2 separate regions of the Homo sapiens genome follow, and region 2 is linked to region 1. The links are contacts of gene promoters, found by promoter capture Hi-C in blood cells and fetal thymus (Javierre and others, 2016). All regions are on one chromosome and are shown on one strand. The core of a region is centred on a gene start or on the middle of the fragment in contact, and the rest is flanking DNA. Distances in the headings are between cores, read along the strand shown.

What was found. The method cuts DNA at HindIII sites, captures the fragments that hold promoters and counts their contacts. A CHiCAGO score of 5 or more calls a contact.
Region 2: a fragment that was not itself captured here is called in contact with the fragment with the promoter of PRPH in region 1 in 1 of 17 cell types (erythroblasts); the score reaches 6.2 in erythroblasts.

The regions. Positions count from the first base shown.
Region 1 is chr12:49,290,988-49,296,488 of GRCh38, reverse strand. It overlaps PRPH (peripherin), which reads right to left and starts at 1,342. Exons shown (of 9, transcript NM_006262.4): 1 at 744-1,342; 2 at 251-311; 3 at 1-57. The coding sequence starts at 1,288. TROAP-AS1 (TROAP and PRPH antisense RNA 1) reads left to right here. Exons shown (of 8, transcript NR_120449.1): 6 at 1-1,229; 7 at 1,954-2,041; 8 at 2,593-3,858. RefSeq lists enhancers at 410-1,326, 1,327-2,244, 2,324-3,086, 3,087-3,850. The HindIII fragment of the contact is 27,974 bases long and covers 1-5,501 here.
Region 2 is chr12:49,480,902-49,486,336 of GRCh38, reverse strand. It overlaps SPATS2 (spermatogenesis associated serine rich 2), which reads right to left. Exons shown (of 14, transcript NM_023071.4): 4 at 1,668-1,747. Among named protein-coding and RNA genes, the nearest start is that of KCNH3, 55 kb to the left of the region's middle. The HindIII fragment of the contact is 1,516 bases long and covers 2,860-4,375 here.

The sequences.
Region 1 (5,501 bases), core at 93-2,592:
CAGAGACTCAATCTTGCGCTCTAGTTCCAGGCGGGACAGAGTGGCATCGTCCACGTCCTTCGAGGGGTGGCAGTGGAGGTTCAAGATAAGTTAGGGGCTGCGCAGACCAAGGAAGGACCAGGCCTTCCCTGTCTGCCTCAGGAGGCATCTGGGTTACCCCCTTCTCCCCGCGCCCACCGATGCCACCTCTGGATACTGAGATCGGGGGTAGCGGTGGGGAGGCTGAACTCGGAGAGGGGCTCGGACTCACCTTGCGGAAGAGCACGAGGTTGTGCTCCGCGTCCTCCCGCTTGCGCGTCTCCTCCTCCAACCTGACGGGAAGAGCGTGCAGAGGCTGAACTGCGGGGTCGCCGCCCAGCTCGCACCCCAGACCGCACGCCCCCCAGGATCCGGTTAGAGGCTGTTCTGCTGCCCAGGACTCTAAATGGAGGGCTGAGGCTGTCTAATGGAATTGCCCCGCATTGTCTCTAACGGACTGGGAGCTGAAAAGGGGGTTTCCTCATTACTCAGGGGAGGCACAGATACCCACTTCTCCCACCTCCCCAAACACTCAGAGCAAAGGGGTAGCGGGGGGCACTTGGAGCCCGTGGGCAGGGATGCTGCCCGCACACACCTGGGTTGGTAAGGGGAGCCACACCCTTGGGCTGCTGATGGAGAGGGGAAGCGAGGGGAGGCAAGAGCAGCCGCCTCGACGGCCGCTTCGACCTCGCCTCGACGGCAGCGGCCCAGCCCTGCCCCCTGACCTCTGCTTGAGCGCCGCCAGGTCCTCCGCCAGCCCGTCGCGCTCCACCTGCACCCGGTCACGCTCGCGGCCCAACAGCTCCAGCTCTCGCCGCAGCTCGCGCAGCTCCTGCTGGCACAGCTGGTCGGCGCGCGCCGGCTCCTGGCCCCGGGCTTGGCTCAGCTCCCCGCGCAGGGCCGCGTTCTGCTGCTCCAGAAAGCGTACCTTCTCGATGAAGTTGGCGAAGCGGTCGTTGAGCTCCTGCAGCTCCTGCTTCTCGTTGCTGCGCGTGGCCAGGAACTCCTGGTTGAGGGCCTCGGCCATGGAGAAGTCGAGGCGCTCCGAGGGCAGGCGCAGGAGGGCGCCCGCTCCCGCTCGGGGGCTACGGAAGCTGCCCAGGCGCACCGAGGAGCTCGGGGACGCGGAGCCCAGCAGGCGGCTGCTGGAGAAGCGGGAGCTGGACGAGTAGGAGAAGGCCCCGGGGGATAGTGAGGGCGGTGGACCGAAGGTACGGCGGTATGAGGTGGAGCTGAAGCCGGCCCGGAGGCCCGACGGGTGGTGGCTCATTGCGGCCAAGGATGGGCAGTCACCGTTCGCAGAGCTAGGCCGGGGGCTGGGAAGGAGCCGCAGACCGCTGCGAGGCGGCTTTATAGCCCTGCGGTCTCAGGGGGGGCACGGGCAGCTCCTCCCACTGGCCTGATGGCCCGCTGGAGGGGGGTTGTATGGGGAGGGGGATGCCCCACCCCTGCGGAACAGCAGGAGCGCCTTCCCCTCCCTTCCCTGGTTGCAGGCCTCTACCCACTTGATTGCCCCCTGTTGCCGCTGGGGTGGGGGTCACTTCCTCCCAACAAGCACCCAAAGCTAGAACCTAGGGTAGGAAGGCCTGACTTGAACTAGAGTCCCTGAAAATTGCGAGGTAGAAGGACCTGAAGTTAAAGGGCAGGCTTCTGGCACAGGAGTAGGGAGGAGGCCAGCTGGAGGGAGAGTTGACCTGGCTTAGGCCCCATAGCTAGTGCCTTGACTTGCCCCCTGAAGGCCAGGCTCTATTTTCACCTGCTGTCAGCTACCCCTCCTTCACCACACCCAGAGAGGAATAGGAGACAGGGGCGCAGAGGCAGATCGGGCTGGGGAAGAGCTACTCTCCCTAATCCCCAGGGCCCTGTGAAGGGCTGGTGCCTGGCGCCAGCTCTGCTGCTAATGGGCTGACCAGCCCCCCTCCCCCTCCCCTGAAGACGGCCCAGCAGAGGTTGTCTGCTGATGTTTCAGCCTTAAAGACACAGCCCCCAAACCTAGACCTACCCCGCAACAAGCCCCAATGAGGTGGGTACATCATAGGGGGCTGAGGGTGGCTGGACCCAGCTCTGGATCCCACTCGGGAGGGTCTGCCCCATGCCACGGGCTGGGCTAAGTGGGCCTTTTGTATTCTGTCTTGGTTTACTGGATTCTCCCTCCCCCCAACCCCACACCAATTGCTGCTCAGTCATGGGCTTTACAGGAACCAGAGTGATTCCTGAGGTAGGAAGGGGAGGGGGCTGAGGGGCAACAGCGGCTGCCAAGGCTGAGAGATGGATGGACTGGCAGGAGCTGGTTTCCAGTATTGATGAGTTGCAGGTACCAGGGATGGGTGGGGCTGGATGGGGAAGAGATGGGGAAAGAGAAAGTGCCCATCCCCAGCAGTCTGAAAGAGAGAAGGCCCCAGAACAGGTCCACAAACCTGCGCACGCAAACAGATGCATACACACAGCTTTGTATATCTATGCGCACACACACTACATACACACACATACACACACAATCACACATCCCACCACACCCTCCCCTACTCCAGAGTTAGCGAGAAGGCTGATATCTGGCCTTTGTATGTCAAACAGCTTCCAGAATGCAAGCACAACCTGCCCAGGAGTGGACAGAGGCAGCTCGGATGGTCTGCAGGAGCCGGGTTGCTGAGGTCTGCTGGGTTTGCCAGGAACCATAGGGCTGGGGCTGCTGCTGCTGCTGGGGACTCCAGCGCTGTCCTGTGAGACAGGTCTGCCTCAGATGGGACCTGAGGACAAGAGAGTGCATCTGGGGAAGCAGGTTTCAGGTTCCTGCCTGGATATCTGGCTGGGGGTAAGGAGGGCGGCTCCCTGGCTGGCCAGCTCCTCAGTATTGCAGGGCAGCAGCCCCCTCCCCCCTTTGTGCGTCCTGTGAGATGGGCCAGGGCCAACGCCCTGCTCACGTCCCTACCGCCTTCGTCTCCTTTCCAGGCCCCTCCTTCCTTCCGGGCCATTAGTCTCTCCCTGCACAGCTGCCAGTTCCTTCTCCTTGATGGGTCTGGTTTGGTTGCCAGGGGAGTGGGAAGCGGGAGGAAGGGAGAGATGGGACAGGACGAATAAATGACAGCTTGGCCTCCCCTAACTCCTGGGAATTGGGAGGGGTAGGGTCCCACCCGGGATAGGGCCGGGAGGCTTGGTGGGTGTGAGGAGGGGCTAGGGAAGCCTTGGTGCTTCCTGCCGCAGTCCTGGGCACTGAGCCCCAGCTGCTGTTGGCCTGGAGCCCCATCTATCCCGGATTTGGCCCCACCCTCCAGGAGCAGGGAGCCAGCTCTGCATCAGGAGAGGCGGGCAAGGCCTGGGGAGGACCAGCTCAGGCCCTGTCTACAGGGCACTAGTGGGGGACCCAAGCCTCTGAGAGTAGAGGCTGCTGGGGCTGCAGCTGGGCCTGGGGAGTTCCAGATGGAGTTCCCGTCCTCACCCTGCTTAAGGGCTCCGCTGGCCACCTACATGCCTCGGAGGAGAAGGGACAGAGGGCTGCCACAGCAGGGCTCTGGAGCTGTGGATCAGGCCTGGGTGGGGAACTGCCAGGCAGAAGAGGCTCCTCCCCTAAAGCAGAAGGAGCAGGCCAGCAACTCCAGGCGGAGCAAAGGTAGGCAAAGAGTCTGGGTTAAGAGCCGGGCTCTGGCATCCAGCTGCCACACTTCCCATCTGATCCACCACTCTGTTGTAGAATTTAGGCTCGTCACTACGTCCCTTCATGTCCCTCAAGAAAAGGGAGATAACTAACTGTAGCTTCTACCTCATAGTGTTGTTGGGAGGACTAAAGGAATAAATAAATACATGTGAAGTGCTTAGGACACACATCTTAAAGCCTGAAAATGGAAGCTGGTTTTATTATTGCTATTATTATTAACCTCCAGAGTGATAATGTCAGCCCCAAGAGCAGTGAGAGTCTGGGCTTCTTTTGGACTGTGCCCCTGGTTGCTGAAAGTAGTGCTTGGACCCAAGGCGGAAGAAGCCAAGTCCTCCCTGGCCTCATCCTCCCCTGGTGGACCGGGACTCTGGGCAGATGGTGCAGGTTCATTCATGGCTGCTCACCTTAATTAGCTGTGTGCTTTGGGTTTTCTGAGTGACTTAACCTCTGTTCACCCCATTTTCTTTCTTTCTTTCTTTCTCTCTTTCTTTCTTTTTTCTTCCTTTTTTTTTTTTTGAGACATAGTCTCGCTCTGTCGCCCAGGCTGGAGTGCAGTGGCACGATCTCAGCTCACTGCAAGCTCCGCCTCCCGGGTTCACGCCATTCTCCTGCCTCAGCCTCCTGAGTAGCTGGGATGACTGGCGCCTGCTACCACGCCCGGCTAATTTTTTCATATTTTTGGTAGAGACGGTGCTTCACCATGTTAGCTAGGATGGTCTCGATCTCCTGACCGTGATCCACCTGTCTCGGCCTCCCAAAGTGCTGGGATTACAGGCATAAGCCACCGCGCCTGGCCACCCCATTTTCTTTATCCACAAATGGGAATGATAATAACAGTACTTACCTCATGGTGTTGGGAGGATTAAACGAGTTACCCTCTGTAAAGCACTTGTGCTTGGCACCTAGTACATGCTGTAGAAGTATTTGCCAGTATTCTCATCGCTCCTCCTCCTCCTGCCTCCCTTGGCTGCTCTGATGAAGGCTGGAAGAGAAACAACTATTGCATGTGTTCAGGGGTTTGCAGGGAAGGTGAGTAACGAAGTTTAGGTTACTGGCAAGAGTGCTATTTTTAAATTAAATTAAATTAAATTTTTTTTGAGAGAGAGTCTTGCTCTGTTGCCCAGGCTGGAGTGCAGTGGCATGATCTCAGCTCACTGCAACCTCCACCTCCTGGGATCAAGCGATTCTCCTGCCTCAGCCTCCCGAGTAGCTGGGATTACAGGTACCTGCCACCATGCCTGGCTAATTTTTGTACTTTAGTAGAGACGGGGTTTCATTATGTAGGTCAAGCTGGTCTCGAACTCCTGATCTCAAATGGTCCGCCTGCCTCGGCCTCCCAAAGAGCTGGGATTACAGGCGTGAGCCACCACGCCTGGCCAAGAGTGCTATTAAATGTCAGGCCACGGGCTCAAAGCTGGATTAGGAGGGCATGTAGGCAAGAGAGAGTGGGAGATTGGGAGAGTAAAGAGATCCATGGCTGGCCAAAGAACAGTCATAGAACAAAGACATGCCAGTGGAGCACAGTGGTTTACGCCTGTAATCCCAGCACTTTGGGAGGCTGAGGCGGGCGGATCACAAGGTCAGGAGATCAAGACCATCCTGGCTAACATGGTGAAACCCTGTCTCTACTAAAAATACAAAAAATTAGCCGGGCGTGGTGGCGGGCACCTGTAGTCCCAGCTACTGGAGAGGCTGAGGCAGGAGAATGGTGTGAACCCAGGAGGTGGAGCTTGCAGTGAGCGGAGATCGCGCCACTGCACTCCAGCCTGGGTGACAGAGCGAGACTCCATCTCAAAAAACAAACAAACAAATTAGCCGGGCGTGGTAGCAT
Region 2 (5,435 bases), core at 2,368-4,867, 190 kb before region 1:
CTACACGGGAGGTTGAGGCAGGAGAATCACTTGAACCCGGGAGGCGGAGGTGTGCAGTGAGCTGAGATCACGCCACTGCACTCCAGCCTGGACGACAGAGTGAAATTCCATCTCACAACAACAGAAAACAAAACAACAACAACAACAACAAAAGGCACCAAACTTACAGACTCTACGATAAAGGTAAGATTCTGATAACTTAAAATACAAGTATTTATAGTACTCAACCACTGTACAGGACTCCATAGTCAACAATTTTTTTTTAAATAAGACAGAGAGGCCAGGTGCAGTGGCTCACGCCTATAATCCCAGCACTTTGGGAGGCCAAGGCAGGCAGATCGCCTGAGGTCAGGAGTTTGAGACCAGCCTGGCCAACATGACAAAACCTGTCTCTACTAAAAATATAAAAATTAGCCAGGCATGGTGGCAGATGCCTGTAATTCCAGCTACTCAGGAGGCTGGGGGATGAGAATCACTTGAACCCAGGAGGTGGAGGCTAAAGGGAGCCGAGACTGCGTCACTGCACTCCAGCCTGGGTGACAGAGTAAGACTCTGTCTCAAAAAAAAAAAAAAAAAAAAGAGAGCCCATAAAGCTTTTATGTTTTTCTCAGTACAGCTCGTTGACGGTTTCATTACTAAAACCACTTGGTTTTCTTCCAAAAGAATGCTCCTTAGATCTACTTCTGGCCAGGTGTGGTGACTATCCTAGCACTCTGGGAGGCTGAGGCGGGTGGATCACTTGAGGCCAGGAGTTTGCGATCACCCTGGCCAACAGGGAGAAACCCTGTCTCCACTACAAATACAAAAATTAGCTGGGCGTGATGATGCACGCCTGTAATCCCAGCTACTCAGGAGGCTGAGGCACAAGAATCACTTGAACCCAGGAGGCAGAGATTGCAGTGAGCTGAGATCGTGCCACTGCACTCCAACCTGGGTGACAGAGTGAGACTCTGTCTCGAAAAAACCCACAAAAGACCTATTTCGGCCGGGCATGGTGGCTCACGCTTGTAATCCCAGCACTTTGGGAGGCCCAGGTGGGCAGATTACGAGGTCAGGAGATCGAGGCCACGGCGAAACCCTGTCTCTACTAAAAATACAAAAAATTAGCCGGGCATGGTGGTGGGCGCCTGTAGTCCCAGCTACTTGGAGAGGCTGAGGCAGGAGAATGGCGCGAACCCGGAAGGCAGAGCTTGCAGTGAGCCCAGATCGGCCACTGCACTCCAGCCTGGGTGACAGTGCGAGACTCCGTCTCAAAAAAAAAAAAAAAAAGACCTATTTCTTGTCTTGGCTCTGAAGGCTCCTGGACTTAAGAATGCTCTTCAAGTACTTGGGAAGATCCTATTCGATTGTTCCTTAAGGAATGTTGCCAAGTGAGATACACTCAGCCACATAAATATTAATCAACTAATTAATACTGAATATCTTCAAAAGAATTTAGAATGAATATACATGGAGATAGGCAAAGAAAATGTTTGCATTTAATAGGTTCTGTTAATAGGTTCTGCGCAATCAGAACCTATTTATGGCCGTCACTCTCTGATATATAGTGGCATTGTTTTATTCTTAAAATTTCAGTCTCATAATGAGTTTGTGGTAGCCACTAGTCGTATTAGTACCTAAATTTTCCTATGACATTTAAGTTTACTATCCATAGTGACTAGTCTTACCTTCTCTTTCATGTTCTCAAAAGCTCCTCCCTGGGCCAGTACGGTATTGGACTGCAAATCAAAAATGAATCCTGATGAATCTGAAAGAATAAGGGAAAAATATATTCAACATGATCCAAATATAATCCATCCCTAAGACAGAAGGGCCAAGACTGGCTGCTTTCGTCCCATAAAACAATTAACAGCAACTTAGTTGCTATTTGGCAAATTCTGTTACATAGATAACATATAACTGCCTTTTGAATTAAACTTATAATACAGAAATTTAATTTTAATAAAAACTGTCACAGCTTGAGGTAAACACTAAATACATCAACCATATTAGACTGTCCTGTAATCCTTGATATCGTTGTTAATTATCCCACCTTAAGGCCTTCTAAAAATGTCACAAGTAAATAGCTCCCCATGGTAAAATTTAACACTAAAGAATCTGAAAATGTGAGTGGGATGGGAGCTTCTGTAGCATTAACAACACACAGTTATTTCCTCTTCTAGCCAGAACCATACATGTTATGTTTGTAGACTATAAACCCGTGAATACATTCATGTGTGTGTCCCTAATATAATGCTTGATGACGCAAGGCATCCAAGTTGTAGGTTATGGAAAAACAGTTCAATATGATTGATTACAAAAAAAGATTCTGGTTTCTCTGTACTTACAAAGAAAAAGGCTATGTGCAAATTTAATCAGTTTCTTTACCCCTATGTGATCAATAAATTACTTCAGCTTTAACACTCAATAGCTTTGTTTTAACCCAATAAGATAAAATCTCAGGAAATGGTTAGAGTGCTTTTCAAATTCTGATGTGCATACTTACCACCTAGGGAATCTTATGCTAAAATGTAGGTTGTGATTCAGCAGTCTGGCCTGTGGCAGATTTTTACTCCCAGGTGATAACAATATTACTGATCTCTGCACTGTACTTGGAAGTAGCTTAGGAGTTAGAATTTCAACAAGGCAAGTAAAAGGAAAAATGTTAAGAAAAGGGGTACAAAAAAACCACGGTAATACTCTAGTACACTTTCCAAATTATTTTGCTGTTATTACAGATATGTTTCAATTAAAGATTCTTTCATGGCTTAATCTTGAACCTTGAATTAATTTAGATTTAACTTTTGTTAATACCGGCCATTTCTAGACTGCTACTCAAATGAAAAATCGGGTAACACTTATACAAACAGTATTTAAGCTTCAGTTTTCTAGATGACTATATAATATGGTTAACTCCCAATTATCTTTATTAATTGAAAAGAGACACAGTCTACAAAAACGAAGATCTTATAGAACCAAAGCACTATTTAGAACCTTCTCAGAATTCCTATAGATCAGCCAAATGATATAACTCGAATGTTTTAATGTATCCTCCCCCAAAGAGGTATTAATGAGCAGTGGGAATGATATGAAGGACATCAATAATCCACTTATTAGTGAATCAAACCACCAATCTCTTTTAGGGAAAAGAGGGAACACAAAACAGCATTTTGGGTTCTATTACTAGCCTCTTATCTAGCTCTGTTTTTTTTTTTTTTTTCCTTTAACAACATACTAGATGACACAAACTGCAAGAAAAACAAAGGAAAGGCTGGGTGTGGTGGTTCACGCCTATAATCCGAACATTTTGGGAGGCCAAGGCAGGTGGATCGCTTGAGCCCAGAAGTTCAAGAGCAGCCTGGGCAATATGGTGAAACCCTGCCTCTATAAAAAGGAGAAAAATTAGCTGGGCATGGTGGCACTTGCCTGTAGCCCCAGCTAATTGGGAGGGTGAGGCGGGAAGACAGCTGGAGTCTGGCAGGTTGAGGCTGCAATGAGTCGTGAATGCACCACTGCATTCCAGCTGGGTGACAGAGAGAGATCCTGTCTCAAAAAACAAACAAAAAACAAAGGGTAGTTCTGCAAACACTCAATTATTGGCCAAAATAAATTAGTATAATTAGGGTTTATCTGGAATACTGTTAGGATAATGATTAAAAATATATAAAGCAGCTATTTCAGTCAAGATCCCAAAGAGGAAGCGAATGGCATACTCAAATTGGGCAATCTTAATAGAGTTTAATAATAGGAGTATTTTCAAAGGTGTTAGCAAAGAGTAGGGAAACCACCCAAGATAGGGCTGTACCTCTTGTTACTGTTTTTGCTGGCTTTTAAGCAATGTGCACTGCTACTTGAGACTTGAGTGTGAGGAGGAAGCAGTTACAGGAGCCAAAGACAGAAAGGGCCCTTTTATTTTTGTTTCATCTGGTATAGAAAGCGCCATCAGACAGTTGCTGTGACCTTTGGCCAAAGGACACACTCAGCCCACAGCTACCCCTCAGAGAAAGATTAGAGGAATAAAAGTCCCCTACCTTACTCTCCTCCCTTCCTCGGAATCTCCTGCCAATGCTGCCCAGTGGCCAAACTTAAGTAAGCCAGAGGGCATGGGAGGCACTGAGATGGTCTACATAGGTCAGGAGGGCACAAATGACAATTTTGCATTTATATTCTATGACATGAGGTCACCAAAAAGATAAAGCAATAATCTAACATCTTAATTTGTCTACTCACTAGCTGATACTGCCTTTTTAAACTTAAACCAACACCTCAAGTAGATTCAAAACCTTACTTTAATCAACTGGCACCTAAATGTCTCTTAGTATTATACAGAAAGTAATTTTTAATTCCCATCAATACTTAGTGATTTTTAAACTTATTTTTTCATGAAAAGAAAGCTTAAGATTTACCTAATTCTATTGGTAAGAAATAAGGCAGGATTTCATCTTTTTATTAATATTTAGCTGTGATAAGAGAGCATGTATTCTATCAGAAACACATTTTTAAGGAAAAAGTGCTGCTAAATATTCTCTAATCCTGGGTGTTCAGGTAAAAAAAAAATTCTCAGGCAAGATTCATAAAGAATATGAGGATGCCTAGGCCAGATGCAGTGGCTCACACCTGTAATCCCAGCACTTTGGGAGGCTGAGGCGGGCGGATCACTTGAGGTAAGGAGTTCGAGATCAGCAAACATGGTGAAACCCCGTCTCTACTAAAAATACAAAAATTAGCCAGGCATGGTGGCAGGCACCTGTAATTCCAGCTACTGGGGAGGCTGAAGCAGGAGAATTGCTTGAACCCGGGAGGCAGAGGTTGCAGTGAGCTGAGAATGAGCCACTGCACTCCAGCCTGGGCGACAGAGCAAGACTCCATCTCCAAAAAAAAAAAAAAAAAAAAAAAAAATGAGGAAGCCTTGAGCTTGTTGAGCTTTCTTATTTATTTCACTCTATCAGGAACCATTTCAGAAGTTTTTTTGGAATTATTTCTTTCTTTTTTTTCTGGAGACGGAGTCTCGCTCTGTTGCCCAGGCGGGGAGTACAGTGCTGTGATCTTGGCTCACTACAACCTCCGCTTCCCGGGTTCAAGCCATTCTTCTGCCTCAGCATTCCCAGTAGCTGGGATTACAGGCACGCGCTACCACGCCTGGCTAATTTTTGTATTTTTAGTAGAGACAGGGTTTCACCATGTTGGTCAGGCTGGTTGGAATTATTTCAAATAGCACACATTCAGGTATATTTGAGAAAAAGTATGTTATTTACAGTACAAATGACATATTTGTAAATACTACAGGTTTTGTTATTATTGTTTTTGCTGGCTTCAAAAATTAGGTAAAAGTTGTTTTTAGGCACTGAGAATGACATAGAAATAGCTGAGCCTGATTATTCCATGTATTAAATCAACCTTGAACAGGTGTCTTGACAAGCTTTAAAACACAGTCTCATTCTGCTGTTAATTTATAA